Regions from separate parts of the Homo sapiens genome. Here regions 2 and 3 are each linked to region 1. Evidence: promoter capture Hi-C in 16 types of primary human blood cells and fetal thymus (Javierre and others, 2016). All regions are on one chromosome and are shown on one strand. The core of a region is centred on a gene start or on the middle of the fragment in contact, and the rest is flanking DNA. Distances in the headings are between cores, read along the strand shown.

Region 1 (3,502 bases), core at 597-3,096:
TCTAAGATTCCAGGATTCTATGAAAAGTTATGATAGCCCTGCCCCCTAAAAGATTGTAAGTTTAAACAACAACAAGAAGTCACAAACTGGTGCATCCCAATCCCATGGGTTCCATTTCACAGGTAAAAGGTGTCTGGGTGAATAAACTGCTGTGCCGCTCAAAGGACCCAAAGGAAGGTTCTTTGTGGGTTGGCGTCTGCAAATATCACCAGCTGCCTGGCTAGAGTGACCAGCTAACATACCCATGTGGACCCTGGGCATGAAGGGAGGTACCAGGCCAGGGGCAGTGGCTCATGCCTGTAATCCGAGCACTTTGGGAGGCCACTCTGGGAGGATTGCTTGAGCCCAGGAGTTCAAGACCAGCCTGGGCAACATGGCGAGAACCTGCCTCTACAAATAATTTTTAAAATTAGCTGGACATAATGGCATGCACCTATAGTCCCAGCTACTTGGGAGGCTGAGGAGGGAGGATCACTTGAGCCTGGGTGATTGAGACTGCAGTGAGCCATGATGGCACCACCGCACTCCACCTTGGGTGACAGAGCAAGACCTCACCTCAAAAAAAAAAAAAAAAAGAAAGAAAGAAAGAAAGAAAGAAAGAAAGAAAAGAAAAGAGGCTGGACGCAGTGGCTCATGCCTGTAATCCTAGCACTTTAGGAGGCCGAGGTGGGTGGATTGCCTGAGCTCAGGAGTTCGAGACCAGCTTGGGGAACACAGTGAAACCCCGTCTCTACTAAAAATACAAAAAATTGGCCGTTGTGGTGGTGTGTGCCTATAATCCCAGCTACTCAGGAGGCTGAGACAGGAGAATTGCTTAAACCTGGGAGGCAAAGGTTGCAGTGAGGCAGGATCACGCCATTGCACTCCAGCCTGGGCAACAGAGCGAGACTCCATCTCAAAAAAAGAAAGAAAGAAAAGAAAAGAAACGAAGAAAAGAGGCTGGGCGTAGTGGCTCACACTTGTAATCCCAGCACTTTGGGAGGCCGAGGCAGGCAGATCACCTGAGGTCAGGAGTTCAACACCAGCCTGGCCAACGTGGTGAAACCCCATCTCTACTAAAAATACAAAAAATTAGCTGGGCATGGTGGTGGGCGCCTGTAATCCCAGCTACTCAGGAGGCTGAGGCAGGAGAATTGCTTGAACCTGGGAGGCAGAGGTAGCAGTGAGCCGAGATCACGCCATTGCACTCTAGCCTGGGCAACAGAAGTGAAACTCTGTCTAAAAAAAAAAAGAAAAGGAAAGAAAGAAAGGTGGCCCTGTTAATGTTTATGCCAAGACAGCAGGCATGACCTGGAAGTGTCCGAAGCCACAGGGCATCTTGCTTCCGGGGAGGATGAATGAATCAAATCGCACCTATTTTAAGGCAAGCAAGGACTCCATGACTTCAGGAGCCCTGGTGGGTGGACAGAAGCTCCCTGCTCCCCTGGCCTGTCTACCCAGCAGCGCTTTGGCCAGTCCCATTCCTGTACTTCTGAGCCTGCCTGCCAGTCCCTCCTCACATGCACACCATGGCTTTGTGCCTGGTATTGAGTGTCCCGGAGCCCCAAACCACACGGTCAACCCCATGAAAGAAACAGGGACTCTGCTCTCATCCACTCGCCCCCGCCTCCCGCGTAATCCCCTGGTGCTCACGCAGCCCCACCGTACAGTTTTTCTAGCTCCCTGGCAGACTTGTGCTCCTGTTTGCCAGATCAAAGCCCAGTGACCTGAGTGGCCTGTCCCCAGCAGAGGCCACTAATCCCTGTGGACCCACCCTGTTGGGAAAGGCATGGGTTGAACTTTAACCATTAGGCTCAGGGGTTGGGATGAGTTTCTACAAAAAGAGGTGGGTACACGCCAGTCCACAGTGGTCCTGATCAAAGTGAGAACAGACAGCAGGGAACATCACCCTCTTCAGACTGGAGTCAGTGGGAACAGACCCAAGATGTTGGGGAGGAACACTTGGAAGACCTCAGCTTTCTCCTTCTTGGTTGAGCAGATGTGGGCCCCTCTCTGGAGTCGTTCGATGAGGCCAGGGCGATGGTGTTCTCAGCGTTCCTGTGCATGGCAAACCAGCAATAACACTTGTAAGTAGAGCCTCAAATTTCCTAAGATGCGACTGGATCCTTGTCTTAGCTGATGGGGTCTTTCGAGAGGAGAGAGGAGAGACCGTCCCGAGCCAGATGGGTTCAGATTTCCACTCCGTTTTTTTTTTTTTTTTTTTAAGATGGCGTCTCGCTCTGTGGCCCAGGCTGGAGTACAGTGGCGTGATCTCAGCTCACCACAACCTCCACTTCCCGGGTTCAAGCGATTCTCCTGCCTCAGCTTCCTGAGTAGCTGGGACTATAGGTGCATGCCACCACTCCTGGCTAATTTTTCGTATTTTTAGTAGAGACAGGGTTTCACTGTGTTAGCCAGGTTGGTCTCGAACTCCTAACCTCGCGATCCGCCTGTCTCAGCCTCCCAAAGTGCTGGGATTGCAGGCATCAGCCACGGCGCCCGGCCCTCTTTTTTCTTTTTTTGATGAAGTTTTGCTCTTTTGCCCAGGCTAGAGTGCAATGGCATGATCTCGGCTCACTGCAACCTCTGCCCTCCAGGTTCAAGTGATTCTCCTGCCTCAGCCTCCAAAGTAACTGGGACTACAGGCACCCGCCACTGCACCCAGCTAATTTTTTGTATTTTGGTAGAGATGGGGTTTCACCATGTTGGCCAGGCTGGTCTCGAACTCCTGACCTCAGGTGATCCACCCACCTTGGCCTCCCAAAGTGCTAGGATTACAGGCGTGAGCCACCGCGCCTGGCCACACTCCGTTTCTCTTGTATTTGGTGACCTTGGGTGAATCATTTAGCCTCCGTTTCAGGGGTCCTGGGGAGGGCAAGATGCTGGGAGCAGGCGGGTAGTCCGTGTTCGCACGGGACACACTGGCACGACTCACCATCCAGACCCGGCGGAATGGGCTGCACTAACCAGTCACGATCGCTCCTAAACTCTTCGGCAGAGAACGCTTTCAAGCAAACCTGTAACAAATAAACCACTCAGCCAGCTCTGCCAAGAAACTGCCCCGTGCCAGCCCCTCCTGGCTTCATGGTCAGTGCCTTGTGACCTTGAACGAGGCCCTTCCTCTTTCTGGGTCTCAGGTGCTTCCTCCGTAGAATGAGAGCCTGCTTTGGCAGCTGCCAAGTTCTCTTCTAACTGAAATCTTCCATGCATTCCATGTTTGGGCCATTGAAAGAGCATGGGCTTAGGAGCCAGACCCCAGGCATGCAGTCCGACTGACGCTTGCTGAGGTGGAGCCTCGGCAGGTCTTCACCCCCAAGCCTCTGTGTCCTTATCTCGAGATGGGGGTGGCCAGACTTTCTCTCCAGGGCCATGGAAGGATGACACGATGCGTGTAGAAAGCCTGGCCCACCCCAGACTCTGAGTGAGCTACACTCATTCCTCCTGTTGGGGTCCACACCTGTGGACTGGAGTGCAGTGGTGCGATCTCGGCTCACTGCAGCCTCTGCCTCCTGGGTTCAAGCGA
Region 2 (3,502 bases), core at 515-3,014, 500 kb before region 1:
TTCAAGATACTTATGGAGAGAAGGGTGAGAAGGAAGCCCTCTCACCCTTTGACCCACCTTCACAGGCACGACGCTGTGAGAGGACACGTGCGTCCCAGGCCTGGGTTGGGTCGGTGCATGAGGGTGCCCTGGCCAGGGCAGCGGCTCTGCAGCCCCAGCCCTGAGCATCCCCGTCTGGCAGCACAGACCTCAGGCTTGCAGCCCGGCAGGGGAGGCAGGGAGAGCGCCGCCATGCAGGTGCCCGTGCCCTCGACAAGCCATGGTGGGGCCTCCCTGACCCCGTCTGTCCCACCCAATACCCCCATTAAAAAAAAAAATCAAGGAAGCCTGTATTCACATTACAACACAAAAATAGCACCAGAAACTTCAGAGTAACATTGCAAATAGGCGGAGCCCAGAGCTCCGTACAGCAGGGAGGCTCTAGAGGGCGGCCATGGAGGCTGGGAGGGAACGAGGAGGGCCCGCGGGAGCTGGCACAGGGGCGGTTTCTTCCCAGTTCCATACGGGAACCCGGTTCCTGGGGTCAAGGTGTGCTAGAGATGGGCTTTTCTCCCGCAGAGCAAATGGAGGCTGGCATGACCCTGTGGTCAGAGGGAGGAGGCATGACCCTGTGGTCAGAGGGAGGAGGCCTGTTGTGCTCTTGGGGGACCAGGCGGCTCAGAAGCAACCCTTCTAAGTAGTGAGCACTGCCTTCCCCCACGTGGTTTCTAAGGTCACTTTGGAATTCCAGCAACAGCAGCAAGACTAAGAGGGAACCTACCACCATCCCACGGCTGCCTCAACTTACTTCCCTTCTCCATGTGGGGGAACGGGAGGTTGTGCAAATCTCCAAACATTGGCTTCTGTGGTGTCGGTGCCCACAGGGCGCAGGGGTGTGGGCTGAGGGGATGGGCTGCTGTCTCTTCAAGTACTTGGTACCAAGAAAACAGCTGTGTGGTCTCAAAAGGGCTGCAGTGGCCCCGTCTTTCACCCCCAGCCTTCCAGCAAGAAAGGGAATGCTGCCCACCTGGGCCCTGTTCAAAGCATCACCACCTCAGCTCTGACATCAAGGCCTGAGCAGTTGCACAAGAAGTCAAGTGGCCACAGAGTGGACCATCTCAGGGAGCCGGAGCTGGCCAAGGAGGCAGGCCGAGACAGGAACGCCCAGCTCCGGTCCCAGGCTCTTGCTCCTAGAAATTACTCGGAAGCATCTTTCTTTAAAGGGATTTTGAAGCCAGTTAGTCTCTGCCCGAAGAGCTGGCTGAGGAGGTCACTCTGGGCCTCGGCCGTCCGGTGGGTGTGTGGCTCGGCAGGTTCAGCACCGTGGACAGCTGTGCCCCTCTTGGGGGGCCTGAGCAGGGGTCTCCCCTGGGGGAAGGCCTTGCCCAGTCTGTCCTTCCTCTGTGTGTGGCCCGGCTCTGCCTTCCGCTGCTCTGATGGTGGCGGCCTGGGTTTGTTCTGGCTGTTGGGCTTGGGCTTGGTCGGGAGCACGCGGCTGGGAGTTGCCTGCTTCCGAGGGGTCCGGGGGGGCTTGTCAGGGGCTGAGGGGGCTCTCCCGAAGCTCCCCACACTTTCACTCCTGGCTGGCCCTGGGACCTGGCCCTTTTTCCTCTTCGTACTGCTCTCTCCCTTCTCCTTGGGACCTAGGCTCCCGTGGGGCCCCTGCTCACCAGCTTCCCTTGGCCCCTTGGTGCAGCTCTTGGCTTGGGCTCGAGCGGGGAGCCTCTCTGGTGCAGGGCTCCGGCTGGGGAAGCTGGGCTTGGCTGGGGTGGTGGCTGTCTCGCTCTGGAGCTGCCCGCTGGCTGGCTGGGGCTGGCTGCCACCTCCTGTCTTGGTGCCGGGGCGAGGGCTTCCACTGCCCTGGGAGCTGGGGCCGGGTTTGGCTTTGGGGGTGGCGGGCTTCATCCCATTCTCTGTGCCACGGGCCAGCTCCCCGGGTGCCAGGCTCCCCACCGCCTTCCTTGGGTGCACTGGGAACTTGAGTGCTTTGCTGGGGGTGGATGCTGCCGACCTGTCCTTTGATGAGCTCTGGCAGCCCGCAGGCTTGGTGGCGCTGCCCTTGTGGAAGGCGCCTCGGGGCCCCCCCTCAGACACCATGTGGCTTGAGGACACCTCCTTCTCTTTCTGAAGTAGGTGGTCTTCCTGGAAATGGTCAGGGGCACACCTGCCACGGGCACCCGGGGCCCTGCGTTTCCCTGAGAACACGAGAGGAGCCCTCTTTCCCTCCGCATCTTGGCCTCTGGCTCCCGGCCGCGGCAGAGATGCCCCCAGAGGGAGAGCTTGCTGGAGAAGAGGCCCGGGGCTGCCTGGGGAAGCCTCGTTCTCTGGCCTCTCCAGGGCTCCGTCCAGCGCGCAGTCTCCTCTGCCATCAGCCAAGGCAGCTGGGAAGGGAGACAGAGACGGCGGGGGACACTCCTGGTGGTTGGATGGCAGCTCACAACCTCTGATCGGGTGGGTCACGGGGTCTACAGGCCTCTCTAGGGTCTCGGGCCATCCCTTGGTGGTGCTGGGAGCCACCTCCGAACACAGGTGGAGCAGGGCCGGGAGAGAGCCCTCACTCAGGATGGGGCTGCTTCCCCGGGGAGGAGGCCTGTCCTCGCCGGGCCCAGGGGCACTGCCGGGCATGGCCACCCTGCGCCGTTTGCTGGGCAGTGTGCCCTCGAGGGCCCGGGCCTTCTGTCCCGGCGCTCCCGGCCTCCGCACGCCGCGGAACGCGAAGGGCTGCCGCCCCCCCCTGAGGTGCTTGTTCATGTGGCGGTCGAACTGCTCCTTCTTGGCGAAGGTGTAGTTGCAGGAGCTGCAGGCGAAGGACTTCTTGATGATGCGCATAACCGTGGCGCAGAGCTCGCAGGCATACAGCGGCGTGTGCTGCAGCTCCGGCCGCTCCAGCAGCCCGTGCGCCCCGCCCAGGTGTGCCAGCAGCTCCCCGTGCTCGGGGTAGACCCGGGGGCACCGGGGGCACAGGTAGACGCGCTGCGGGCTGTGCACCGCCAGGTGGCGCTGCAGCTTGAAGGGCTTGGGGAAGCGCTTCCCGCAGTGGTGGCAGTCGCGGGAGGGGTCCTTGCAGGCCTCGTGCACCGGGGTGGCTTGCAGGAGGGGCTCCCCGCCGGCCCAGGGGTCGGGGGACGGGCTGGGGGTCGTCCTGGGGGGGCCCGGGCTGCCGGCGTCAGCCAGGGCGGTGGCAGAGGCGCTGTCTGGGGTCGCGGCCCCGTCTGGGTTGCTGGGGGTGCTGCGTGCCCGGGGTTTCGCCCTCTCGCCCGGGCTGTCTTTCTTGGCTTCTCCCTCTTGCCCCCACGGGTCTCCCGGGCTCCCGGCGGCCTTGCCGGCGGAGCGCTTGCCCCTGTGGTGTTTGGGCGCGGGTTCCGTGATGCTGTTCAGAAGGTGGGCGACAGCGCTGCTGCCCTCCAGGCCTCCGGGCAGGTCCCCCAAGGACCTCCGCGCCTGCCCCCTGCGGGCGAAGCGGACCGCGTGCTCACGCAGGTGCTCGTTGTACATCCAGACGTCGGCCACCTCCTTCAGGCAC
Region 3 (3,502 bases), core at 276-2,775, 440 kb before region 1:
CACCTGCTTTGACTAACCCAGTGGCAGCATCAGGAGTCACTTTGGACTGTTACAACTGGGAGCTACCTCTGGCATCTAGCTGGGGGGCAGGGGCTGCTGCCACGCCTCCCCAGTGCACAGGAATCATCCTGCCCCAGGTGTCAATGGCGGGAGGTGAGAATCCTGGTATCAGCACCCTCCTGGGGGCAGCTTTGCTCCAGGCTTGGCCTCCTGATTCCCGTCCCTCCCCTGGCCTGGCCCTGGCAGCGCCTCTTCCCCCTCTTCATAGCCCTCAAAGCCATCAGAGAGCTGAAAAGGAGGGCCACGTCCACCCCTCCTGGAAGGAGTTGCCTGATGGGGTGCTCTGCAGGGAGCAGGGGCTGGGAAGGTCCCCTGTGTCTGTGAGCTCAGCAGAGCTGGAAGGCTCCCGGGTGGTCCTAGCCCCTGCTTTCCAGGAGGAAACTGGCCCAGCAGGCTGCTGACTAGACTTACCCACAGCCACTGAGCCAGGTCTCATGCCCTGGCCAAGCCCACATGCTGCCCAGAGCTCCAGGCCTGCTACTGATCAACCTCGGGGGGCGAGGTTTCCTGGGTCCCAGTAGACGGTCAGGAGGGCCAGCTCACACGAGTCACCCCCTGGACTTTTGCCTGATGTAAAAATGAAACCGAGTAACCAGCGCCATGCAGGGGGAGGCACGAGAAGCCTCCGACAGATTCCAAGGGCAATTGCCATTGGCACTCGAGGTCAGCGCTGATGGCCTGGGTGTGTGGACACCCGTCCATCCTGACAACCATGCACCTTGAGAGCAAGGCCGCACCCCTGCCACGTGTGGGCCCACGCCTGCCCCAGATGGGCTCTCGAGAGAGGAGACCTCCGAGCGAGGACCAGACCTGTGGCCGAGATGTGGCATGTGGGACGTTTAAACACTCTGGGAGTTTTCAAAGCAAGCTTCACCTGTGATCTCATGGGCTCTTTAATCCCATTTGCTAGATAGGGGAAGCTGAGGCTGGAGGATGCAAAGAGCCCATCCCAAAGATGTGGCAGTTAGTGGTCGAGCCTGTCCCAGGTGCTGACTGCTGCCACCCTCTCCCTAGTTCAGGGTGGGAGTGGAAGGGAGAGCAGCTTTGGGGGCCCCGAGCATTGGGGTCTGCACAACATACAGGGGTCTGTGAGCAGCCGGGCAGAGGTGCAGACTCGGCGCTCCCTATGGGGCAGGAAGCCCATCTGGACGGCCTCTGATGAGCTCCCACCTCCCTGAGGACGGCTCCTGGGTGCAGCAGGAGGTGAGCAGGGGCTTGTGTGTCCTCTCCCCGTTACGATGCGTGCAAGCACAGAGGACAGCGATCACGGGGCCTCTCCAAGAACGTGCGACCTGGCTGATATGGCGCTAGTTATTTTACCAGCCTGGGATTTCTGGAACACAATCAGTACCCGTGGACTTTGCTGAGTAGACCCTCAATTTGGGTCTGGATGCTGCAGAGAAAAGGGCACAAACAGGCCCGGCCCCGGTGCCCCCTGCTCCCTGCCCGCCGTGTGTGCCTGGGTGAGTCAGCGGCCTCTCTGAGTTTCCACTTGCTCATCTGGGAGATGACATCATGGCGCCCACCTGTCAGGAGGGCAGAGCTGGCCCCTAGAGGCTACGGTGCTGCGGCCTCACCACTCCCTGGCGGTGAACTGGGGGGATCTTGGGGCGTCTAGGACAGTTGGACATAACAGGTATGTGCAAGGTAGGAGGAGTGGGTGGCTCTTTGGACTTGGGGTCCTTGAGGATGCAGGTGTCCGTCCCTGGGTCAGGCTTCCTCTCACGCTGTGGTGACCCCTGTGCTGCCCTAGGCACCTGGCCAGGGCTCGGCTCAAAAACCATTTTTTTTTCCTGGCATCAAACAACAACAACAACAACAAGCTCTAGAATACGAAAGTGGGGATGAATACATCTTCATCTACAGAGCACAGCACCTGCAGGCCAGCGCTTGAGGGGTGGCGTGGTCCGCGCCCTGAGGACCTGTGTGGGTACAGGATGCCAGCTGGGACAGGGGGAAGGCTTTGGAAAGTGAGTGGGAGAGAGGAGGGAGGGCTGGAGGAGGGAGATAGAGGAGGGAGGATGGGGAGTGAGGAAGGGAGGAAGGACAGAGGGAAGCTTGAGGGAGGGAGTGTCAGGGCCTGGAGCCCGGCTGAGCCCGGTCCAAGGAGACATTCCAGACGGATGGTGGCGCGTGACTCAGATGCCTACGGCCCAAGCGTTTCTGCCCCATCATCTGAATGGCCCCAGTCGAGAGCAAAAAGCTGGGGTGGACAGGGGTGGCCTCGAGGGCGTCCTGCACAGGGGCACAGGCACACACCCCCACTGCAGGCCATACACACCGGCTCACACATTCACGTGCTGCCATGGGTGGCGGGCCCAGCGGGAGAGTAGCCGGAAGCCACCGGGCCCATGGGTCGGCAGAGGGTCTGGGCATGCAGGATCCACCTTGCCCACCCTCTGTGAGGCTCTGAGCAGCAACGCCCCTCCCCTGGGAAGTCCCCCTGCCCTGCACCACCCCGGCTCCTGCCTTCTGAGCAGGGCTGCTTTTGGACACACGGTCTGTGCCCCTGCCCCATTGGGAAGACTCCTGTGGCCTGCCTGGTGTGCAGAAGACACAGGAGTGGTGGCTAACTGTGGGCTCTGGGTCGAGTCCCATCTCTGCCTCCAGCTCTGGCAAGTCCCTCCTGGGAGATGCTGAAGGGACCCAGCTGAGAGCCAGCCTGCGCTGGGGCCTGGCCTTCTGGTGCCTCTGGCCCTCCCGGCGGCATGAGCGGGCAGAGCCGTCCTCCCTGCTTTACCCAGTAGGAGGCTGGGCCCTCGGGGGCCTCGGGGCACGCTGGGAGGAGGCCTGGCGTCTGGGCTGGGCACACACCACACCTGTGCCCTGCACTTCCTGGCTGCCCTAGGAGCCTCTCTGGGAATCTCAGGCACAGCAGGCAGCTGGTGGCCTGGGTCCAAGCCCCAGCTCTGCTGTCTGCCAGCCGTGTGGCCGGGACACCCCGCGAGCCTCAGTTTCCCCATCTGCCGCGGTAACCCAGTGAATGTGCTGGGGCCGTGGGCAGCTGCTCTCTCCAGACACGCTCAGCCGGAGCATCCCTCACTCAGCCCTCGCAGACCTTCAAAATGGGAATCCTTCTAATGAAAAGAAAACAGAGGCGGTGGAGACCGGCCGGCCGCGGGAACCCCAGCCAGCGGCTGGCGCATGAATGGGCCCGTTCACGGGCGGCGGCAGAGCGAGGGCCCCGGAGGAGGCACCCGGGCTGGGCCCAAGGAATGGCAGTGCCTGGGGCAGGCCTGGGGCAGGCGAGGAGAGGGACAGCGGCCTTCAGTGCCTGCTGCAGCTTCCCTCCCCCTCTCACCCCGGACGTCCCCTCACACCGGGCCCGGCTGTGTGAAGGAGTCAGACGTCCGCAGTCCGAATCGCCACTGTCCTCATTTTTTTTCCTGTAATTATGTCTCCAGGGGACAACTACGCATTTACATTTTGCTCAGCTCAGTCA

The links. Contacts are between HindIII fragments. The CHiCAGO score rates a contact against its expected background, and 5 or more counts as called.
Region 2: a contact is called between a fragment that was not itself captured here and the fragment with the promoter of CA5A in region 1, in 11 of 17 cell types (endothelial precursors, M2 macrophages, M0 macrophages and 8 more). The highest score is 18.5, in endothelial precursors.
Region 3: a fragment that was not itself captured here is called in contact with the fragment with the promoter of CA5A in region 1 in 1 of 17 cell types (naive B cells); the score reaches 5.5 in naive B cells.

Annotation. Positions count from the first base shown.
Region 1 is chr16:87,934,873-87,938,374 of GRCh38, reverse strand. CA5A (carbonic anhydrase 5A) reads left to right here and starts at 1,846. Exons shown (of 7, transcript NM_001739.2): 1 at 1,846-2,066. The coding sequence starts at 1,925. The HindIII fragment of the contact is 28,449 bases long and covers 1-3,502 here.
Region 2 is chr16:88,437,007-88,440,508 of GRCh38, reverse strand. ZNF469 (zinc finger protein 469) reads right to left here. Exons shown (of 3, transcript NM_001367624.2): 3 at 1-3,502. The coding sequence ends at 1,177. Among named protein-coding and RNA genes, the nearest start is that of ZFPM1, 15 kb to the left of the region's middle. RefSeq lists a silencer at 2,910-3,059. The HindIII fragment of the contact is 5,448 bases long and covers 1-3,502 here.
Region 3 is chr16:88,376,243-88,379,744 of GRCh38, reverse strand. It overlaps a transcript of ZNF469 not described here. Among named protein-coding and RNA genes, the nearest start is that of ZNF469, 5.0 kb to the left of the region's middle. The HindIII fragment of the contact is 1,189 bases long and covers 931-2,119 here.